Linked DNA regions of Homo sapiens: all the other regions are linked to region 2. The links are contacts of gene promoters, found by promoter capture Hi-C in human tissues and cell types (Jung and others, 2019). All regions are on one chromosome and are shown on one strand. Each heading gives the region's core, a stretch centred on a gene start or on the middle of the fragment in contact. The rest is flanking DNA. Distances are from core to core; before and after follow the strand shown. Region 1 overlaps LINC02099 (long intergenic non-protein coding RNA 2099). Region 2 holds the start of DCTN6 (dynactin subunit 6). Region 3 has its middle 23 kb from the start of LINC02209. Region 4 overlaps LINC02099 (long intergenic non-protein coding RNA 2099).

Region 1 (5,931 bases), core at 1,903-4,402, 360 kb before region 2:
AGATTCTTGTTAAACCAACTTAGGGTTCTTGCTAAAGGCAAGCCAGGGTGACCAGATATCAAGAGTGGGGGAAGCAGAAATTGATCATACATCCAGAGTGATCAGATTTCAAAGATGTAGCGTTTCTCACTAAACTGACCGAGCAAGATTTTTTTTAGACAGAGTCTCCCTCTGTCACCCAGGTGGAAGTGCAGTGGTGTGATCTCAGCTCACTGCAACCTCTGCCTTCCGGGTTCAAGCGACTGTCCTTCCTCAGCCTTCAGATAGGTGGGATTACAGGTATGCACCACCATGCCTGGCTAATTTTTTCGTATTTTAGTAGAGACGGGGTTTCATCATGTGGCCCAGGGTGGTTGCAAACTCCTGAGCTCAGGCAATCCTCCTGCCTTGGCCTCCCAAAATGCTGGGATTACAGGCGTGAGCCACCGCGCCCAGCCACAAGATACTTACTGAGTGATGCAAGCCCAGCAAGGACAGGCCGGAGGCCCAGGTCGAGGCCTAGTCAAGAAGAGGACTCAGAGGAGCATAACAACAGCTTGGTCAAGGATCAGGAGTCTTTGTCAGTGTAACACCCAGAGTGAGCTGTAATGTAAACTATGGATTTTGGGTGAGAATGACATGTCAATGTAGGGTCATCAATTGTAACAAATGTCCCACTCTGGTGCAGAATGTCAATAGTGAAGGAGACTCTGCAGGTGTGCGGTCAGGATAACAGAACAGAACTCTGTATTTTCTGCTCAATTCTGCTATGGATCTAAAACTTCTCTAAAAATTAAAGTCCATTAAAATATTTTTAAATTAAATTGGTTTAAAAAAGGAAATGAAATTGGATCATTCCTGACTATGGCACAGGTAGCAAGACCAGCCCTATGCCCTTCCCTAGACAGGAAGTTTCAAGCCAGATCACTAGCTCTGGTGCCAATCGATCCCTAGAGATTTGATAATCTTTGCCATGCCCAATAGTAGGAGTGCTGGTTCTTTCATGCATGGCTCCCTGTTCTATCATCTCTCTCCACTTATCCTCTGTTCTGTTGAAAACACTTCGGATTGGCTACCCAAGAGCTACTCATAACCCCTTCCCGCTTGCTTTAATAAGGGTTATCGGGAAGGGATTTGGGGAATGTTTTTAAAGGCCACAGACTGAACCAGTAGACCCCCTTTAGCCTGTTGCCCTTTCTCCATTCATCTTGCCTAGAATGTGGATGTAATGTCCGTCTTGTGACTCTGAGGATGAAAGCCACAAGCCAAGGATAGCAGAGTACAAAGAGAGAAAGAGGCTGGGATATGGATGACATTGTGAACTCTGGACTGCCTATTTAGATATGTTTTGCCTGAGACGAATGGATACTTTATTGTTTAAGCCCTTTATAGTTGAGATTTTGTTACTTTCGGCCAAACATAATGCCAATTGTTATATTTTTCTACTCCCCAAATTAGCAGAAGGGGCAAATCAGCAAACCTACTGCATAAATATCCAAGTGGGATGCTGGGATCCCTAATTTTTTAATGTGGTTTTTAGTGGGAAAGCATTATTTATCTCCACAGCACAGCACTTCCTGCTAGGTGAAAACTTGTACTTGCAATGATTCTCTCTTCCTGCTTCCAGGGTTCTGCTTTTATAGATAGGGAGTAGTGGGAGAGGATATTAATTGTGATAGGACTTATGCTATTTCTACCTCATTAACAATTTTTAAAATATTTAAGAATGTGGGATATTGCATCTGAAAAAGACTATCGACTAAACATGGTTTAGACTAGTGATGGTTTGTGGGTCTAGAAGTAATTTTTTAACATAAAAATCAGTTCACCTCTCTACTCCTCTACCTTCTGTGGAAGATTGTATTACATCTTTGCCCCATGGATATTGGGCTTGGTCAAATGACTTGCTTAGACCAACGGATGTGAGCAGAGGTTTTCAGCGTGCTTGCTGGTTTGGCGGCTTTCCCTCTTGTCTTTCTGCTATCTGCCATTAGCAGAGCATGCTCTGGCAGCTTCCATCTCAGAATGCAGAGGCAGTTGAAGCCATCAGGAACCCAATCTTCAGCTTGAAGCAGAGCCTCCACAATTGACCCACAGAACCATAAGCGAAAAATAAAGTTGGTTCTTGTAAACCATTGAAAATTGGGATTGCTTGTTATGCAGCATTAGGCAATAATAGTTGACTAATACACTTCCAATGTCTTTCAGCTCATTCTGAGGAGAAAGTCAAAGTTTACAGAGTGATTCAAAAGAATCCTCATATTCTGGCTCCATTTACCTCTCTGACTTCATCTTCAACTACTTTTTTCCCTTCTTACTCTGCTCCAAATACACCATCCTCCTTCTTCCTCCTCTAACATGCCAGATGTGTTTCTGCCTTGGGACTTTGCACTTGCTGTTTCTCCTGCATAGAACACTTCCTCCAAATTCCTGCATGGCTTATTTGTTAATTTTCCTGTGATTTCCCTTTCTTTAAGAAAGTCATCTCAGTGAGAAGTTATCTAACCATCTGACTGTAAACTGCATTTCCCAGTACTCAGTAGCCCCTTCTTTGATTTACTTTTCTATTTAGCACCAATCATCATTTATCCATTCTCTTCCCACCACCCCACTACAGGACAGGGACTTTATTTTATTCACAGCAGTATTCCCAGGGTCTAGTCAGAGCAGTGTCTGGCACATGGTAGGCACCTGTTGATTATTCATAAATGAACAAAGGGATAAAGGAACAAATTAAAAATCTCAACATAAAAATTTATAAATAATTCCTAAATTATTTAATAAAATATTACATTTTTCTTTAATAAATAAAAACAATACACAAATGACATTTCATAAAAAATCAATGGTTAGAAAAAGAAATATAGGTGCTCTTGTTTGTAATCAAAGAATCAGGAATTAATGTTACAGAGAGGTATTCCATCTCCTTTCAAATTGGCAAATGTTTTAAAGAATTATAATACTCATGATGGCAGTAATTCTCTTTGTCTGGCATGGGTAATCTCACAGACTGTGGGTGGAGATATGTAGAGATTCATCCTCTTGGGAAAGCAATCAAATGCCTTTACATCTTTATACCTTTACATCATCGGTCCACTAATTTCCCTTCTAGAAATCCTTCCCAAAGAAGAAATCAGTGTTGGAGGCAAGAAATTACATATCAAAAAGTTTCTTACAATGTTATTCATAATAACACAAATTTAGAAAAAAATCTTATCAGTCAATAATAGAAGGATCATGACATGAATCATGGTGTATTTTTAGAAATTTCTTATGTTTTTTACTTTTTTGATCGATACATAATGCTTTTACATATTTATGAGGTACAAAGTATCACATGTACCCCATCAATATGTAAAAGTATTATGTATCAATTATGCATAGAATGTGTCATGATCAAGTCAGGGTATCTGCGTGTCCATCATCTTCAGTATTTATCACTTCTATGTGGGAACATTTCAAGTCCTCTCTTCTATTTTGAAATATACAATACATTGCACGTGCACCACTGAATTTAAAATAGAAGTTTTATAAAAACGAGAACAAAAATGCAGAGATGCCAGAGGCTTACATGAGGTCACTTTGCAGCACCAAAGCCCATTGTGATCCACTCCTGTTAACAGAGGTGGGGGGAGTAGATAAATGGGTGGGTGGGGAGTGTAAATGATAAAGCTGGGGCATAAGAGTGGGGAAACATAGGACACCCCCAAATAGCCATCTCATTTTTTCTGTTTCCCTCCATGCCAAAAAAGCACATTTTTACCTAATAAAGGAAGGTGGTATGGAGCAAGCGAATGTGACTGTCAGTCAAGCAAGCTTGATGCATCATTCCCCGCTTCCACACCTCCATGCCCCAACACAATCCCTGACCTTCCTCTGCCCACTGGAGCACCCCACCTGGACTGTGTGTGCCACAGTTCCCTTCATTAGCTCCCCCCACACACTAGCTTTCACATGGACACTCCCTGAGCAAGTAGCGCTGAGCTGAGCCCAGCCCTCTTCCTCCCCATTTCCGGTAAGTTTTAGGCGGTCATGACCATGGGATGCTGGACCAGGATGGTAAGCTTCAGGAAACAGAATCTGGAGAATGCCCAGCTGCTCCCACAGGAAGCATCAGGGAAGAAGAAGAAGAGGTGTGAAGTCTGCCTTCTGCTCTGCTGGGATCCCTTTCACATCTCCTTTGCCTCCAGGCAGTTTTGGTTCCTGGCCATTTCCAGGTGTGACTCACTCAGGATGGTAAGCATCTTCTCTCCTACCCAGAGTAGAGGATGAAGACCTCATCTCAGAGGTTGAAGGGAGCTCCAGAGAGAGGTCTCAAACTTCCAGCATTAACTGCTAAAGAAGCTTCATGAGCTGCTGGAGAACCTGGGAAATGACCAATTATAGGGACAGAGCTCAAATACTCTGGGACACTCTAGTAGCTGAGAAAGTTCCAACTCCAGGGTGATAGAGGACTGCCTGGCAAACCATCATCAAAGCAGAAGACCTGATACTAACATCACAGGCTATGGTTTATTACTGAAGATCAGTGCTTACACCCTGCCAGAGGTTCAGAAGCAAACTTATCATTGTTCTCCCTGGAGATGTTGGCCCACATTCTGAAAAGTGTGGTCAGTAGTAGCAACAGAAAGCAATTGTGCTTGCCAAGCACAATGTCACTGTCCCCAGCCCTTCCCCCAACACAACCCAGTAGGTGCTTCCTGGCTGCAAACTTGGGAAAGTCACTTGACCTGTCTGAGGTTCCACTTCCTAATCTGGCCTGGCGAAGATAAGAAAAACAGTTTATTTAAAGTGTCTAGCAAAGTGCTTGGACCAAAATAGGACCTCTGAAATGGTTATGGTAGTGCTGTTAAGGTGATGTTTTAAGTGCTGATGAGCACAAAGATGGGTAAGATATTCCTTCTGTTAAAATCTACAGTCTAATGAGAGAGAACAAGATGAATGCACAATAACTGTCATTCAGAACAGGATTATGAGAAGGTGTGAATTTCTGTGAAAAATCAGAACAGGGAGTAATATGATCCCAGGTGATTGGCAGGGGGTGGGGGTCTGGATTCAACTGGAGAGGGAGCTGGCAGGGAAGGCTTCCTGGAGGATGAGAGTTCAACAAGGGGCAGGTGTAGGATGTGGGTGGCCAAGTGACTGGGCAGAAGGAGCTGCAGAAGTAAGACCCCAAATCAGGAAGACAAGGGCCTGCTGAGAAACACGAGCTACAAAGTGCAAGTGCAGGAAGAGTTGGGATGAGATTAGAAGGGGGTCTGGGGCCAGACTGTGGAAGGCCCAAATGCCGGGCTAAGGAGTTTGTACTTAATTCAGTGGTCAACGGGGAGTCATTGGAGGCTGTTGAGCAGGAGAGTTGCTTTCTTTACAGCTGTGCCAGACTAAATTAAACCTAAACAGTACTTTATAGCTGGAAAGGGAAGGCCCAGGAATAGCTCTTGACTCAGAAACAGGCATTGGGGAAGGTAATGAGAAACAGCCGTGACTGATCAAAGCAGAGAGGTTAATTAAATTTGTAATTATTGTGAAAGGCCATTAAAAACCCTAGTTCACTAGAGATAACTGCTCTAGTGGGGCTTCAAAGACAAACGCTTCTTTTAACCTTGAATAGGGGGATGTTTGCTTCTCTGTGGAGGAGATATGATTAAGATACTTAATAAATGGTAGATAAACATGCACACGTGTGTGTTCTCTGTAAACCCACTCTTCGTCCCTGCATATATCTGTGTAGCTATGTAGGGTGCTCCACAAGAGGGGTCCCCAGCCCCCAGGCCATAGAGCGTTATGGGTCCATGACCTATTAGGAACCAGGCCACACAGCAGGAGTTGAGCAGAGGGCAAGCAAGCAAAGCTTCATCTGTATTTACAGTCGCTTCCCATTGCTCACATTACAGACTGAGCTACCCCTCCTGTCAGATCATCACCAAAGTGTATTTATTGGCACTTATAAAT
Region 2 (5,397 bases), core at 224-2,723:
AGGGTGTGATCGAACACATAGAAAGAGAAAGAGAGAAGTAGGCAGGGGCTGGATGTAGCTCAGAGATAGGTTATGGAAAGCAGTTTGGATTTTAGATTTTAAGAGGAAGGGGAAATAACTGAATTTGGCTCTTATTTTTAATTTTTTTCCATTAAAAAAATACATTATAGAAAAAATATATAGAGACGGGATCATGCTGTGTTGACCAGGCTGGTCTCCAACTCCTGGCCTCAAGCGATCCTCCCATCTCGGCCCCCCAAAGTGCTGGGATTACCGGTTTGAGCCACGCGCCTGGCCTCAATTTGTCTTTTAAAGGATGATTTTGACTACAAGAGAACTACTTGGATCAGGGTTGGGGGTGGGAGATGAGGAGGTGTGATTTCAGAGGCCAAGTACAGAATGAGTGAACAACTGGGAGAGACACATCGGCTGAGATTAGAGAGATGGTCCGGTAGACAAAAGTGTAAGCATGAGACCCGAGGTAGGACAAGCAGAACTTGCAGATCTATTACAGATGTAGGGGTGAGGAGTGCCAGGGTGACTCTTGAGTGTCTGGCTTGAGCAGCTAGGCAAATGGTGTGGATCAAAAAAGCAGCAGGTTGCAGGGAGGACGGCAGTGTTAATCGAAAGTCATGTTCTGTAAGTTTTAGGTTCGATACGACTCTGAGCGGAGATGTCAATTAGTCAACCGAATGTCAGGTGTGAAGATCGGCACAGAGGGCAGAACCAGAGACATTCATTAGAGAGCAAACAGGTAGAGGGCACTTAACCTATAGGAAGGATGCACTCATATAGAGCGAGAAAAGGGCCAGAAGGAGCCCTAATGAGTAGAGAAAGACAGGCTGAAAAGGACATCGGCGAGGTCAGAGAAATACCTTTAGGGTGTAATTACGCCTACGCGAGTGGGTAAAATGAGGGCATAATGACGCGGACTGGATTGCAATAAACAGCTTTTATTCTTTTATCAGAGACACGATCTAGCTTTTTAGCCCAGGCCGGAGTGCGGTGGCATCCTCACAGCTCGCTGCAGCTTCACTGGGCTCAGGCGATCCTCTCGAGTAGCTGGGGTACAGGCGCAGGCCACCGTGACAGGCTTTTTTTTTTTTTTTTTTTTTTTTTTTTTGAAGAGAGGGTCTCACTATGTTACCCAGGCTAGTCTCGCAGTCTGGCACTCCTGGCCTCAAGCGATCCTCCTGCCTCGGCCTCTCGGCCTCCCAAAGTGCTGGCCTGTGCCCAGTCAATGGCTGTTCCAAATTAGGGTCTACCCATCTCTATGCAGGGCTAAAGTCCGCGGGCGGCCCCGCACCGCTACCAAAAGTACAGTCCTGTGCGCCCAGACGCGACGCAAACAAGAGTCGCAAGCTTCCGGGTCCCCGCCCCACCCCGGCTCCGCCCCTCCCCCAACCCTGCCAGGCTCTCCAATCGCATGTGGAATTATCGCTCTACCCAGGCGGTGGTGTCGATCTACGTTCCAATTGGGGCCGTACCATGGCGGAGAAGACTCAAAAGAGGTGGGTTTGCTGCTTGAGAAAAGCCTTTTCTCAGCTTTCCGTAGGGGTGGAACCTGTTCCTGGTCGCCAATGGTGGCGACTCAGAAGGTGTCTCATCCTGGGCATTCGGGCCGAAGGTACCTGAAGCCCAGACCTGGCGTCCACTGAGGGAGGGGGCGACGGAGTGGGGGCGGGGAGGGTTGAGAAGGGACGCGGAGTCGCTGCCTGGAAGGTTTTTGTTCCTGTCTGGCCGTCCCTCCCCACATGCGCCTGCGCAGAGGGGGTCTCCCGGCCGGGAGGGCGGGGGGGGCTGTGAGGGGAGGGTGACGTCAGCTTTTTCCTGGGGAAGGCCGGCTCCCTTCTCCCGCATAATCGGCGGTGCTTGGCGCCGCTGTACCCCACGGCTTGGCGCTGGATTCTCTGCTGCATGTTGCGAGACCCCCACGCCAGTGCTGGCCGCACCCCAGGCCCTTCCTGTCTCTGGAGGGTGGGGTGTGTAAAGGGATTTACGGTCGCTGTCAAAAGGGGGGCCGCGCCTGGACTTGAACTGTGACACACACACACACACATTATATAGATGCAAGGAGTACTTGCGCAGATTTGTTGCATAGATAAATTGCGTAATGGTGAAGTTGGCTTCTAGTGTACTTACCACCCAAATAGTGAACATTGTATCAGATGGGTAATTTTTCAGCCCTCAAACCCCTCCTACCCTCGCTGCTTTTAGAGTCCCCAGTGTCTGTTATTTCCCTCTTTATGTTTATGTGTACTCATTTTAGCTCCCACTTAAAAGTGAGAACATGTGCATTTGATTTTATTTCTGAGTTATCGCGTAAGGTAATGGCCTCCAGTTCCATCCATGTTGTTGCAAAAGACATGTTTCCTTTCTTTTTGATGGCTCTGTAGTATTCCATCGTATAGATACACCACATTTCCTTTATCCAGTCATCCGTTGATGAACACTTAGGTTGATTCCATACTTTGCTATTGTGAATAGTACAGTGATAGTCATAGGAGTGCAGTTGTCTTTTTAATACAATGGTTTCCTTTGAGTAGATCCTGGGTCGAATGGTAGTTCCGTTTGGATTGGTAGCTCTATATGGATTGCTGGGTCCAATGGTACTTGTGTTTAGTCCTTTGAGAAATCACCATACTATTTTCAATAGATGAACTAATTTATATTCCCACCAATAGTGTATAAGCTTAGAACTGTGACATTTTTTGCCAGGCGTGGAGTGGACAAGCTCCTTTGTAAACATGTGGGGACAGGAAGTTTGGCTTCTTCTCCGGTAGTCTTCATTGCTGGGGGCTGTTGGTGGCTGTTGGTGGCTGGGATGAGACAAGTGCATAAGTAAAGCCATTTCGAACAGCAGCAGTGTTGAGCTCCCTCTGCTGACTATTTTTGACAAAGAAAACTGACATTGTTTCTGGTGCCATAAATTAAAATGTAGATTTTTCTTCCATTTAAGTAGATACTCTGTAATCTTTTTTCATAAGCTAAAGAGGAACAGATGTACTATAAATATTATGTGCAGTAGATAGCAGTAGATAGTAGCTTACAGTGAAGATTAAGGTATTGTTGACTTGTTACTTTTACAGATCTGAGGTTAAGTCTTGCCCTCCCATCTGCCGGCTCACCTCTCTGCTCCCACCACTCCGAGATACAAGGGGTCCTTGCAGAGATATCGGGACCACGTTTTAGTTGGCCTAGTGGCCTGCCCCACTGAGAAGTGTGCTGATTGTGACGCAAGCATTACCTGGGATCTCTCCCTTGGGCGTAAAACTGAAGGCAGGGGGCATTTGTGAGTCTCTCCTACTCTCAGTTGCCCAGGACAAGTTCAATGTTAGATAATGCTCTTTTCATAATGAGAAGGAAGCTGAGGAAATGGAAAATTGCAATGAGAAATAAGGTCTAAAACAAGAGACATTTTATAGAGGCTAATGTATTTGACCAGGGCTTAATAAAATTGCATATTTTAACAAAAAAAACCCACTTTAAATGAAAAGTATCAGAGAAATGACATTTACAGCTGGTGATACATTCAAGGACAGTGTCGCTCATTTATCATGGAAAAACATCTGGAGTGACAGGATGTTTCCAGAAAACTTTCAACTAGAAGACAGATGACTGATTTCAGGACAGTGATGCCCCAGGAATGAACTCTGCTCCAAGAAATTTCTAGTCTCTGAATTTCAGTTTTTTCTTCTATAATATGAGAGGGTTAGACCAGGTGATTTTCTTCTAATCTTACTAAAATCTTTCTTCTTCAATACAGCAGGAGGGCTACATATTTTCTGTTATTTCAGTAGATTGACTTTTTTTTTTTTTTTTTTTGTGAGACAGAGTCGCTCAGGCTGGAGTGCAGTGAAAGCTTTGCACCATGCCTGGTTCCTTTTTTTTTTTTTTTTTTTTTGAGACGGAGTCTCACTCTGTTGCCTAGGCTGGAGTGCAGTGGCACAATCTCTGCTCACTGCAACCTTTGCCTCCTGGGTTCAAGCGATCATCCTGCCTCAGTCTCCAGAGTAGCTGGGACTACAGGCACCCACCACCACACCTGGCTAATTTTTGTATTTTTAGTAGAGATGGGGTTTCACCATGTTGGCCAGGCTGATCTCGAACTCCTGACCTCAAGGAATCTGCCCACCTCGGCCTCCCAAAGTGGTGGGATTACAGGCGTGAGCCACTGCACCTGGCCCAGATTGACTCTTGACAGGCTGTATCACCCAGAAGGACCATTGGTAGGATTTCATTGACTTACGCCTTATAAAAAGTCAGAGCCTAACAAAATGATGGAAACAGCTGGAGCTGTGTCTATTCTCAAAACCATTTCTTGAAGATAGACTCAGGGATTATTAGTTTTTTCTATTTGATACATGTTTTTTTGTTTACTTAGAGCTTTAAAAATTCATGGCGGTGTGAAGGTTTGTCCACCCTAATTTGTGGAAGAAAAATTTGTGTATGTCTTCTTTTTTTTTTAGTTCATCACACCAGTAGGGAAGTTGGTACAATCTTAAAAATAGTTTTCATCTTACTTTGCATGTATATTAGGGAATACTTGGGGGGAAGATTCTGGCATAGAAATGATGGAGAGACATGTTAATGAAAGAATCTTTACCCTTCTGACTCTCAGAGCTGTATTTTTAGAACTCTCTTATGAGCTTCAGAATCTGTATTTTCAGTCGCTTATTGGATATATCTGGTGACCATTCCATAGATACCTCAGACTGAGTTTATCTAAAATTTAGCCAAATGACTTTTTTCTCTAAAATCTACCCCTCCTCCCATAGGCTATTCTCAGATGGTGCCATTAGTTTTCCAGATCAGAAACCTAGAGGCTTTGACCTTGCTCCCTAGCTCCAGACTTTTGATTAGTTTTCTTTTTTTTTTTTTTTTGAGACAGGGTTTCACTCCATCACCCAGGCTGGAGTGCAGTGGTGCAATCTCAGCTCACTGCAACCTCTACCTCCTGGGCTCAAGCGATCCTCCCGCCTCAGCCCCCCAAGTAGCTGGGAGTACAGGTGTAAGCCACCATACCCAGCTAATTTTTGTATTTTTTGTAGAGATGGGGTTTTACCATGTGACCCAGGCTGGTTTTGGTTGTTTTTCTGGCATAAGTGAAGCAGAGTCACAGCAGCTGATTTTGAGCCCTGGAATTTGAGCTTCCCTCTCCATCAGGAATCATCCCTTCCCAGGAAGGGGACAAGATGGCACCAGTTTCCTTATTTCACTCCATGCCCCTCACACCCATCCTTCTGTAGTTGATATGGTTTGGCTGTGTCCCCACCCAAATCTCATTTTGAAATGTAGTTCCCATAATTCCCACATGTTGTGGGAGGGACCAGGTGGAGATAATTGAATCATGGGAGCCGTTTCCCCCATCCTGTTCTCATGATAGTGAATTAGTTC
Region 3 (5,706 bases), core at 2,807-5,306, 260 kb before region 2:
TTGTTTGTTCCTTTAAGCCTCAGTTTTCTCTTCTGTAAAAATGAGCATCTGGATTAAATGCCTGAACTCCCTTCAGCTCTGAAACTCTGTGGTGTATTCTCTGAGGACATTACCTCTCTAAGGGACCCAAATTAAACAGCTCACACCATCCATCATTTTTCTGTCTGAGGTTTTATTTCCCTAATCAGATTTGGGTAAATTTTCAGCCTCTCTCTGTCTCTTACTTCCAATCCAATAAAACCTGTATGGATTTGTTTTGTATTTCATCTAATGTCATTATTCATTCTAAGAGTCACTGCCTGACCATTTCCCTGCCTATAGCATAATTAGCTATTAAAAAGCTACACTGGCATGGTTTTCAAACTTGCATCCTCTTTTTCTGAGGTGGATTGATTCTAAACTGATTAAAATATCTCAGAATTTCCAATACAATTTTTAAAATGCAACAGATTTTCAAGACTGCCTCATGACTCTGCCAAGCCAAGGGAGTTAGCTGCCAACTCTCTCTGACTGCCAAGGAAGCCAAATAAATAATCCTGATGGTGGTTTTAAAATGAGAGGCAACTGCCCATTTCTTAGGTTGACAGTGCCACCCTACACATTGACTTCTCCAGGGTTTGTAAGACACCAAGGGTTATGTTTCAGATTTTCCCCAGAAGGACAGAGTAGCGTCCTGGACCAGTCTGCTCAGTTAGCAGATAGAAATCATTCACCATCTTCCCTTGTTTCACATACATTCATCCTCTCAATAAAGAAGTGCTCCTTTCTCTTCCAAAACCCTGCTGAAGTTCACTGCCTCAGTGAAACCTGAGAAGAATCTCTCTAGTCATCGACCCAGAAGCTGACTCCTAACCTCCTTGCCTAGAATCCTGGACCTCATGCTTTGAGCCTTACATCAGAGGACTTTTTTTTTTTTGAGATGGAGTTTTGCTCTATTGCCCAGGGTGGAGTGCAATGGCATGATCTCTGCTCACTGCAACCTCTGCCTCCCGAGTTCAAGCGATTCTCCTGCCTCAGCCTCCTGAGTAGCTGGGATTACAGGCGCCAACCACCATGCCTGGCCAATTTTTGTATTTTTAGTAGAGATGGGTTTCACCATGTTGGCCAGGCTGGTCTCGAAATCCTGACCTCAGGTGGTCCACCCACCTCGGCCTCCCAAAGTGCTGGGATTACAGGCATGAGCTACTGCCCCTGGCCTTCAGTAGACTTTTGCTCTAACCTTTCATATATCTTCCACATGAACCAGGACCATCATCCTAAAATCAGGCTATGAGATCATCCAACCTAACATAGTCAATATCCCCACCCATCATACTTGCCATCACCCAGATATCCACGTCACTTACATTACTTCCAGCTCTTCGATATGTCCTATAAATGCCAATACAATTAACCAAGTGATTTCTTGGAATCAACAATACTGGCTTGGACTACTTACTGTGTTTTGATCCCTTTGGTATTCTCAGAACCAGGACTATCTGCAGAATCTAACACCATCATAGGACCAGACAGAAATGGTTATTGGTGGGTGTCCCAGGCACCGAGACCCCACCAACCTGAGTGACTACCTGGCATAGCCAGGAGCAAAATGCAGAGCATCCAAACCATATGGAATTAGGGGTGTCTGTTCTTTGTCTTCATGCCTTTGGAATGTGCGCTTTTCTTGTCTTTTTCTGTTAAGTTGTAGGACTCTCAAGCTAAAAACCATGTGTATTCCCTTTCAATGCCACAATGGAATTAACTCCTCATTGTCATTTATCAAACATTGTTACCACGTTAACTATGAAAATGACAAAGAAGACAAAGGTTACCATATCCTGGTGAGGTTAATAGGTATTGAGGACCTGCATCTCAAGACTCCAACCAACGTGACCGTCAAGATCACATCTGTGATTTGTAGGATGAAGGATTCTGTTTCCACTCACCAGCATCTCCTGACAAGCTGCGGGACTGGAACCCCCTTGGGCTGATAGAATGACCCTCCAACCACGGCTGCACAAAGCTGGTAACAAGAAAATTTCCACAGCAATGTCTGTGACTTTAGATCAGAGTCAACACCTCTGTTTGGAGGCAGGTCCTCCATATTTAATACAAAGCTTTCTTTTCTGGCCTGGCATAAAATTATTTGGAATGTTTCTACCCTAAGAAAACAGAACATAGAAACAAAGCTTTTTTATCTCCCTCCAGGTCTTGTCTCCAGATAATGAAACTCTGTCATTAGGCTTGTAAATACTCCTCACTTTAGGGGTGATGAGATTCAAACTGTGAGTCTAGGGAATTTCCTGGTAACAGCTCAGCCAGGAAAATCAAAGCTGAGTTTTCTATCCTTGATATTGAAACGTTCCTATTCAGTGAACAAGTGGTTACTGAAAATTGTATGGGGGCACTTTATGTTCTCCAAGGGACTGTGAGCCCCTGTGATGTTCACAGTCCACAATGGGGACTCAGCTGAACCTAAAGCACTCAGGCACGGCCACGTGCTCCATGCTCCTTACTCTAAATAGCACCAAGTACTCCAGGAACTTGGAGCAAAGTGGGCCTGGCCTTGAAGTACTGCCAAGATTTCTAAACACAGCAACAGGAAGGAGGCATTCCAGGCAGAGACAAGAGCATGAACAGAAGAAAGGCAGGGCAATGTGTCTTTGGGGGATGGTGAGTGAATCCAATTCATTTGGAGTCTACTATGTAGGGGAGCATACAGAGAATACTGGGAAATTGGAATTTCTGGAGACTCATTCTATCATGTATGGCTGCATTAGTCCATTCTCACGCTGCTGATAAAGACATACCTGAGACTGGGTAATTTATAAAGAATAAAAGGTTTAATGGAATCATAGTTCCACGTGGCTGGGAAGGTCTCACAATCATGGTGGAAGGCAAAAGGCATGTCTTACATGGCAGCAGGCAAGAGACAGCTTGTGCAGGGGAACTCCTCTTTATAAAACCATCAGATCTCATGAGACTTATTCACCATCATGAGAACAGCATGGGAAAGACCTGCTCCCATGATTCAATTACCTCCCACTAGGTCCCTCCCATGGCATGTGGGAATTGTGGGAACTACAATTCAAGATGAGATTTGGTGGGGACACAGCGAAACTATATCAATGGGCTTTCATTTAACCTTTGCAGACAACAATTACACAGCCCTACCAACTGGGGAGGATAGAAGAAATATGACTCTTGGAAAAGTGCCTTATGTTCTTTAGAACATACTTGATCAATACAGATCTCATGGTGGCACCTTGTCTCTGTTTCCAGGATAGGCCAGTGCATTGCCATCCTTTCATTATATGTCTCTCTTTCTTGCTAGACTGTGGGCTCCTTGCGGGCAGTGACTGTTTCTGACCCAACTTTTAATCCTCAGCACTCAGCACAATGCCCAAAACATACAAGGTGCTCAGCAAGCATTGAATGGATTAATTAAATTAAGGAGTTAACAGATATGAGCACGCACCCTACTTGTCATGGCCACTTGACTTGTGCAAAAAAGTACTGGAAAACAATTGCAGTTCATATGGAGAAACTATATCTAGGGAAAATGTGGTGGTGGTGCAAGCAGCAGGAGAACCAGAAAGTCATTCCATGGTGCAGCAGTAACCAATGGTGCAGGGCTCCTTTCTGATGCCCAGAACTGCTGGACACCCAACCAAGAAGCACACGAGAGCCCAAGTAAATTTCTTGCCAAAGAGTGCATGAAGCACAGCCTATCATTCGAGATTGCCTCTCAATGACTTTGAAGCAAAACACTGGGTTTCTAAATTACCATCACAGCTAAGCAAATTGATCATCTGGAATTTGTAGCTGGCTTGTTAGACTGTATCCAGGGAAGGGGTGGCGGGGGCTGGTAGCAGGTTTGGCTCAGCTGCCTATAATTTTAAGCGCTTAATGGGATGATAATTTGCTGTTCAGTATGTTCATTTTGAAAAGCTTCCCTAATTCAGAGGGGAAAATGAATAAAACCAAGCTTTTTACTCCAAATCTGTGTGGAAACATCAATATCCTTCCATCAAGGAAACAGGTGGTTAAGAAGACATGGAAACATGGAAGAGATTGCTAGTGTCCCACAGGAAAAAAAAAAAATGTGCCTGCTGGGTGGTTGGTTGTATTAACTTACCATGAGAAGCTTCTTATAACAAGAGCTAAAATTCTAGTTCTTCTACACCAGGGGTCTTCAACCCCCAGGCCACAAACCAGTACCAGTCTGTGGCCTGTTAGGAACTAGGCAGCACAGCAGGAGGTGAATGGCAGGAAAGGGGGCAAAACTTCATCTGTATTTACAGCTGCTCCCATCACTTGCTTTATCACCTGAGCTCTACCTCCTGTCAGATCAATGGTTGCATTAAATTCTCATAGGAGCACAAACCCTATTGTGAACTGTGTATATGAGGGATCTAGATTGTGCACTCCTTATGAGAATCTAATGCCTGATAATCTATCACTATCTCTCATCACCCTCAGATGGGACCATCTAGTTGCAGGAAAACAAGCTCAGGGCTTCCACTGATTCTACATTATGATGAGTTGTATAATTATTTCATCATATATTACAATGCAATAATAGAAATAAAGTGCACAATAAATGTAATGCACTTGAATCATCCCCAATCCATCCCCACACCCCCACCCCGTGCCTAGGTCCATGGAAAAATTGTCTTCCATGAAACCAGTCCCTGGTACCAAAATTGTTGGGGACTGCTGTTTTTCACACTAGCCATCCCAGTTCTTCACAGTCCCCAGGAGATTTCATGGACCTGCACAGTGAAGAAGAGACACAAATGAACAGAGGGTGTGTGTGTGTGTGTGTGTGTGTGTGTGTGTGTTACCTCCATGTGCATCAGGTTATTGGGGCTGGCATTTCCTGACAACAGCTTCTGTGAACTGGTGATCTAGAATATTTTCCACTCAAATCAAATGTGAAGAGTTTCTAGTGACATTAATTTAGTTGACTTCTTTCTTAATACATCTCATGCAATCACACATCTTTTCTTTCTTGCGTCTGAAATTAATTCTACATGCCTTGTAAGTTTCTTAAGGTAGATCATGTTTCTATATTGCATATTTTGCATATGAAGCCTAAAAATTACATTGTACACAAAGTCTAAAGATGCCAAAACATGAGTTTTTTTTAAGAGCTAAGGGCAAATTATTCTCAGTAAGAGACCAAAACTTTTTTATTAATTCCCAAACTCATCAAACATTTACAGAGCCCCTATTAGATATGGCAAAGGATAACAATTTTTATTATTATTATAAAAACAATCCCTTTCATTCATTTATTCTTTAATTGTCTGAATATTTATTTATCTCTTCTAGGGTCAGGCACTGCTATTAGCTAAAAATTCCAGATGAATAAGATATAGTGCTGCACTCCAAGAACACACACTCCAGAGATTAACATCCTGAATTATTATTAGCTTACTTCTGCCCAAAGACAGAGGGAGGAGAATGTGATGGAAAGGCGGGACTTCAGCTGTATTTGTAATGTTTTATTCCTTTATAAATCCTAATAAAAAGAATATTAACATTTGGAAAATCTAAATGGCAAGTACATTGGTATATGATATATTATTTTTCTGCTTTTCTTGTATATTAGAAATAGTATATAAACATTGCTCTGAAAACTAGATCATGATGATGATCATGATGATGATAAGAACTGTGTTAAGAATGATGTTAGAAATCTGCAAAGGGCTGGGCATAGTG
Region 4 (5,288 bases), core at 2,622-5,121, 380 kb before region 2:
AGCCCCATTCAACAGATGAAGAAACTGAGCCTAGATTATCCCCATTTAACAGATGAAGAAACTGAGCCCAGAGAGTGTGATGAGGATGATGGCTCTCCGGGTTACACAGTTGCTGAGGAGGTTGAGCCACAGAACAGAGATTTGAACTCTGGTTCATCTGACACCAATGCCAGGGGCTCTGGAAGCTGCTTATTCGTTCGCAGGATGCCCCTGAGGTGGGGGCCATGTGCACAGGTGTTCCAGTATCTTGGCAGAGATTTTTGCTCTCCTGGCATTGGGACTGTGTGGGATCAGTGCCCGAGGGCCCTGGGATTAGCTTGGCATAAAGGGAACTTGAAGAAACCATTCCTAAGTCAGATCAGAGGGCTGGGGCCAGAGCTGTGGGCAGGAAGCAAGTGAAAATGAGAGCAGAGGTGAGTCCCTTCCAATGGGAGAAGAAACATGACTTCATCTTCCACATTCTATGTCCTTCCAACCACCAGGACCTACTGACGCCGCAAGTATACAGCTGACTATGAAACTGAAACTTATTCACTATTTCTGAGCCACTTATAATGAAACGTCCTGTGCACCAAAAACACAATTCTGCAAATTCATTAGTTTCTATCATTAAAAATAGACATGTGTTGACTTCAACAATAAGCTGTGCTCATCAATGCTGTCATCTTCATTCAGGGGATACATGGCACGATCATCAACCTAAGAATGATTAAAAAATTAGAAGCACATGTTGAAATGAGGTGAACAGGAGAGCAGGGTCCAGAGTGAACAAAAAGGACAACAGAACCTGAGGCAGCCAGATGGCACTGGCAGAGACACTCAAGATGGGAAAGTCAAAGGGGAAGGAAAATGAGGGGCCAGAGGGGTAGACTTTTATGAAGTTTCACAGGAGAGAGAGAAAAAGAGTGCATGAATGTAAAGAAGAATTTCCTGCCACACTACATGGGAAGAAATGCTGCTCTTGGACTTTCACTAACCTTTAATGGGCCTCTTTGGAAAAAGGGGAAGATGGGTTGTTGGGTGCACAGATGTGAAGGATGACTCAGGTGGGGCTGTCTAGGGGGCAGTTAGAATGTCAGCTAAGGAAACAGAGACTCTACTGTTAAGACTGAGGATACATGCAGAAATTGGAAAGAGAACACAAAACTCCATATGGCCCTCTGTATGTTCTGCCATCATGTGTCCCTGATCAGAGTGCATGTGCAGGAAGAACCCGTAGAGTACTGCTGCCGCCATCACGGGTCATTCATCCCCATTCCCAGCCAGCCCAGTTGTGTCCTGAACATGTAGGTGGCCTGTGGGCAAGCCAGGGTCTCAGCCTCCCTCTGCTCCCTTCCTTTGTCCTCCAGCCCCAGGGAATGTGCCAGCCACTTCCTCTACAAACCCCTGGAACCCACTCACTCCCAATGGAGGACATCAACTCACCCATGAGGGATCCACCCCCATGATCCAAACATCTCCCATTAGGTCCCACCTTCCAACACAGCCACACTAGGGATCAAACGCAACATGAGATTTGGTGGGGGAAACAAACCATATCCCAACCAAAGCAGGCACCTTTCGTAGAACACTTTTCTAATCTCTTCTGTCACTACTCACTCAGCCCCCAAATTCTTGTTAATTCTTTTTGTGCCTAGAGAGGGTGATGAGGGTGTTGGCTGTCTGGTTTACACAGCTGGTGAGGAGGATGACCCACAGAACAGAGATTTGAACCCTGGTTCATCTGGCACCAATGCCAAGGGCTCTGGAAACTGCCTAATCATTTGCAGGCCGCCCCTGAGGTGGGAGCCACGTGCACAGGTGTTCCGGCACCTTAGCAGAGATTTTTACTAAGTAGTCAGGGGTATGTGCAGCCCAGGAGTTCATCTACATCTTTCTAGGATCCCTTCCTTGAGCTCCCTCTTCTCTGGCATCTCCCTAACACTTTGCAGCTTGTAGGTGGTCCCCTTCCGGGTACACAGGCTAGAAATACAGGGCTTTAATTTCTCTGTTCTGTTGTGCTCTTCCTGCAACTACATCTGCTACCCATTCTGCAGTACTTGGAGTTCTTCCCCAATCTGTCTGTTATTGTTTTACTTTTCTGTGTCTGCCGGTAGCTGCTCCCTGCATTTTCTCCAGGGATTTTCACTGCATTCAGTGGGAGAGACAAAGTGGTATGTGCTTCATGCATTTTGACCAGAACCAGAACCCACCGAGCGTTTTTAAACAGTTAAAAGGCATGTAGCTCTCTATTCCAGAAGGCTCTCTTTGGCTGGAGCAGGGAGAATGGGTTGAGAACGATGTTAGAGGCACAGAATATAGCAACCTAAGAAGCAGATGCCACAGGCTGGTTTTAAGGCAATGGCAGTCAAAGGGGAAAGGAGAGAGTCCCAGAGCTCCTCAGAGGTGAATTCTGCAGGATATGATGGCCAATTCGATGTGGAGGTGGAGGCATATGAAGTCTCCAGAATAATTCCCTAAGATGGAAACACGAAGATGAAAAATTTGCTCCATGAATGTCAGCCCTTGAGCAAATTAGCAGGCAAATATTCCTCCCCTAGACCAGAATGAGCAAATTTAAAATCTCTTTCAATTTTCCTTCTCTACACTACTGGATCATTTGCCTTTGTGTTATCAGCCATGCTAAGATATTCTCCATTCTAACAAGATGTATTTGAGCCCATTTGAAGCACCAAAAAGTTTACTATTGATCTCTGTGTCATTTTTCATAGGGCAAATTCAAAATAGGTTTTATTCGCATAACAAACCACCACTTTAAATTGTGAAGTAGTCAGAAGTAGAGATTTTATAGTGTTATGTGTTGCACCATGGTTTTAATTTTTTATCTGTGTTTAAAAATTTTGCCATTTGATTCTATGATTTGTCAGCAAAATACCATTATATGATATTTCAAATATATAAAACATTTTTAAAGGAATTAAGAAAAACTGAGCTTGCCTGGGTTGTTTGTTAAAGCAGCTAATAGTGGTGCTGTAGTGATGCTAGTGTAGCAGTAGATAGCATATTTTCTTGATTTATTTTTGCAGAAGTAGATATGTCTTTCTATGTTTTACATAAACCCCACACACAAACATACCATGGGTATATGTCCATACTCACAGGCCCACACCTCACCTGCTAATACATTATTCAGTCTTTCAGTTCCTTACAAATGCTACATTCCTCTCTCCATTATCTTTCACATTTAAGTTAAACAATGATTAGTCATTTTGACTGTGGATAATTTGCCTCTTAGTACAAATATATTTTCCTCTGCCAAGTATGCTTACAAAGCGCGGGGCCCAGAACCCATGTGGCTTGATCACAATACCAAGATGGTGGTCTATTTCCTACCACTAGTACAATCTTCCTCACAGTGCAAGCCATGTGCTTAACTTTGGGTAGAAAAAAAAAAACAAAAACCTAAAACTGGAAAGAAATTCCCAAGATAAACAGTATAATGGACTGAGAATGAAAGCCCTTATATTTGAGACAGAATTGGATTATTTCTTAGAATGGCTTTTGAGAAAGGAATCTGTGGGCAGAAGAAGAAAGAGATTCCTTTTGTGTGGCTTGCTGCAAGTCGACAAAAGAAATGAAAGGAGAGGAAGGGCTTGGGAATCAGCTGCTAACAAGGTCCTTAATTTGGGCTAAATCTTCTAGGGCTTAGGAGTTTCAGATTGCGTTCTTGTTATATAAAGAGCCTTACTACAAGGCACCACTCTTTCGCTGTTTCCCGGGTGGGTAACTGTTTCTCTTTTCCTAGACACGGGACAACGCTGAGTCAGAATGCTTAGTTTGATCAATTAGAAAAGAAAGGTGAGTGGAGGTATGAGCTCCAGGTTTTTTGTTCATGCTTAAGCATAAGAAAGTCAGAACATTGCCACTGTGTTGTTTGACAAGCGATATCCTTTATCTACACAGAAGGACAGAGCTTTGGGTAAAAAATTCTACATTGCCCAGACACTGGGCAATGCTCCTAATTGTGTATGTTTCTGTTGTATTTCTCCAATTGAAATTTTTCTGAGAGCCCACTTTCTGGCATCAATGGCATTTTATTTCTGTGGCTCACTCAATAATAGGGACCTGATGCTGTCTGTGGGATCTGGCAATCCTCAGCTGGGCACATTCTTTGGTCAAAGTTTTGCAAAAGGTGTGGTCAGCACAGCTTGGGCTGGAGATTATGCCGGAAAAGGAGGCTGAGATAGGAAGTCAGCTGGATTTAAGTGCTTTGCAAAGCACATGCAAGGTTTTGTTAATACACTACAGTTGGTCAATTGAAAACATTTTCAAGTACCCCAGGGTGCTGGGTAAGAGCTAAGTATAGGAATAAATTCCACATGTGAAAGCACTCAAAATAGCACTAAACAACAGACTCAGAAATATTTGGAGTAGGCTCTGTCTGCAAATCTCACCAAAAGACAAGCAAAAAATATCTCCAGGAGACCTTGGATTCATTTTAAGACTCAGACAGCTTGGTCAATTGCTGCAATGAATGTGTTCATTGCAAGATATTTTGGATTTGCTTCATTTATTCGTGAATACTCAATGGCTAGTTCATCATTCAAATTGCTGCCAAAACACTTTTCCATGAAAAGACATTAGGCAGCTATGGAAAAGGTGGGTGATGAGGCTTAGGAGGAGGAATTCAGATTTCCTGTGTCAGATAACCAAGGACAAGGTGAGTTGGAAAGGGCCCTAAAACCTAGAGATGCACCTCAGGGCCAGAAGTGTGCAATGGTAGTTGCTTCTTGGCCTCTTGGCTAAGACCAAGTGCAGAAGTGTGCAATTCAGCCAGAGGGAGAACCAGAGCCACACAGGTGGGCCAGCCTCTGGTTAAGACAGGATCACTGTAGCAGTAGGAATAATAATGATGAATTAGCAAAGATTTATTGAGCACTTACTAAATTTAACTTGTTCACGGCCTCACTGCTGGGAAGTGGCAGAGCTGCAATTCAAACTCAAAGTCTCTGACCCATAGCCCTGGTTCTTGACGATTATTCCAAAAGCCAGGCCAGTCAGGATCCTGGGTTTCCTTGGCCACAGTGCAAACTCTTGGGAAAACTTCGCATTTAGAGTTCTGGTACCAAGTGGGCCATTTTGCATGGGTGTGCAGGTGTGTATTACACAGTTCCAGAGGCCACTGACTTCGTAGTTAATGTGGCTGCCACCCTCACCCTGAAACTGCACAGTAGACCAACTGATGACTATCACTATGGCCCCAACATTTCTATTCTTCAGCTTTTACAAGTGAGATACCTGCCCTGCTGAGAGGAAAATGACTCTGACCCAAGGCCACTAGCTGCAGA

The links. The method cuts DNA at HindIII sites, captures the fragments that hold promoters and counts their contacts. A contact is called where the count stands out against the background at its distance.
Region 1: a contact is called between a fragment that was not itself captured here and the fragment with the promoter of DCTN6 in region 2, in 1 of the 25 tissues and cell types used here (mesenchymal stem cells).
Region 3: a fragment that was not itself captured here is called in contact with the fragment with the promoter of DCTN6 in region 2 in 1 of the 25 tissues and cell types used here (aorta).
Region 4: a fragment that was not itself captured here is called in contact with the fragment with the promoter of DCTN6 in region 2 in 2 of the 25 tissues and cell types used here (IMR-90 fibroblasts and lymphoblastoid cells).

The regions. Positions count from the first base shown.
Region 1 is chr8:29,792,836-29,798,766 of GRCh38, forward strand. LINC02099 (long intergenic non-protein coding RNA 2099) reads left to right here. Exons shown (of 4, transcript NR_125815.1): 4 at 4,000-5,657. Among named protein-coding and RNA genes, the nearest start is that of LINC02099, 47 kb to the left of the region's middle. The HindIII fragment of the contact is 3,847 bases long and covers 1,230-5,076 here.
Region 2 is chr8:30,154,896-30,160,292 of GRCh38, forward strand. DCTN6 (dynactin subunit 6) reads left to right here and starts at 1,474. Exons shown (of 7, transcript NM_006571.4): 1 at 1,474-1,511. The coding sequence starts at 1,489. It overlaps DCTN6-DT (DCTN6 divergent transcript), which reads right to left and starts at 1,765. Exons shown (of 1, transcript NR_186490.1): 1 at 934-1,765. It overlaps LOC124901927 (a long non-coding RNA gene), which reads right to left and starts at 3,215. Exons shown (of 2, transcript XR_007060880.1): 1 at 3,129-3,215; 2 at 2,277-2,987. RefSeq lists enhancers at 565-774, 599-1,581, 1,525-1,674 and a silencer at 1,735-1,844. The HindIII fragment of the contact is 3,226 bases long and covers 52-3,277 here.
Region 3 is chr8:29,895,371-29,901,076 of GRCh38, forward strand. No RefSeq gene overlaps it. Among named protein-coding and RNA genes, the nearest start is that of LINC02209, 23 kb to the right of the region's middle. The HindIII fragment of the contact is 3,848 bases long and covers 2,133-5,706 here.
Region 4 is chr8:29,774,512-29,779,799 of GRCh38, forward strand. All of the region lies in intron 1 of LINC02099 (long intergenic non-protein coding RNA 2099), which reads left to right. Among named protein-coding and RNA genes, the nearest start is that of LINC02099, 29 kb to the left of the region's middle. The HindIII fragment of the contact is 7,253 bases long and covers 246-5,288 here.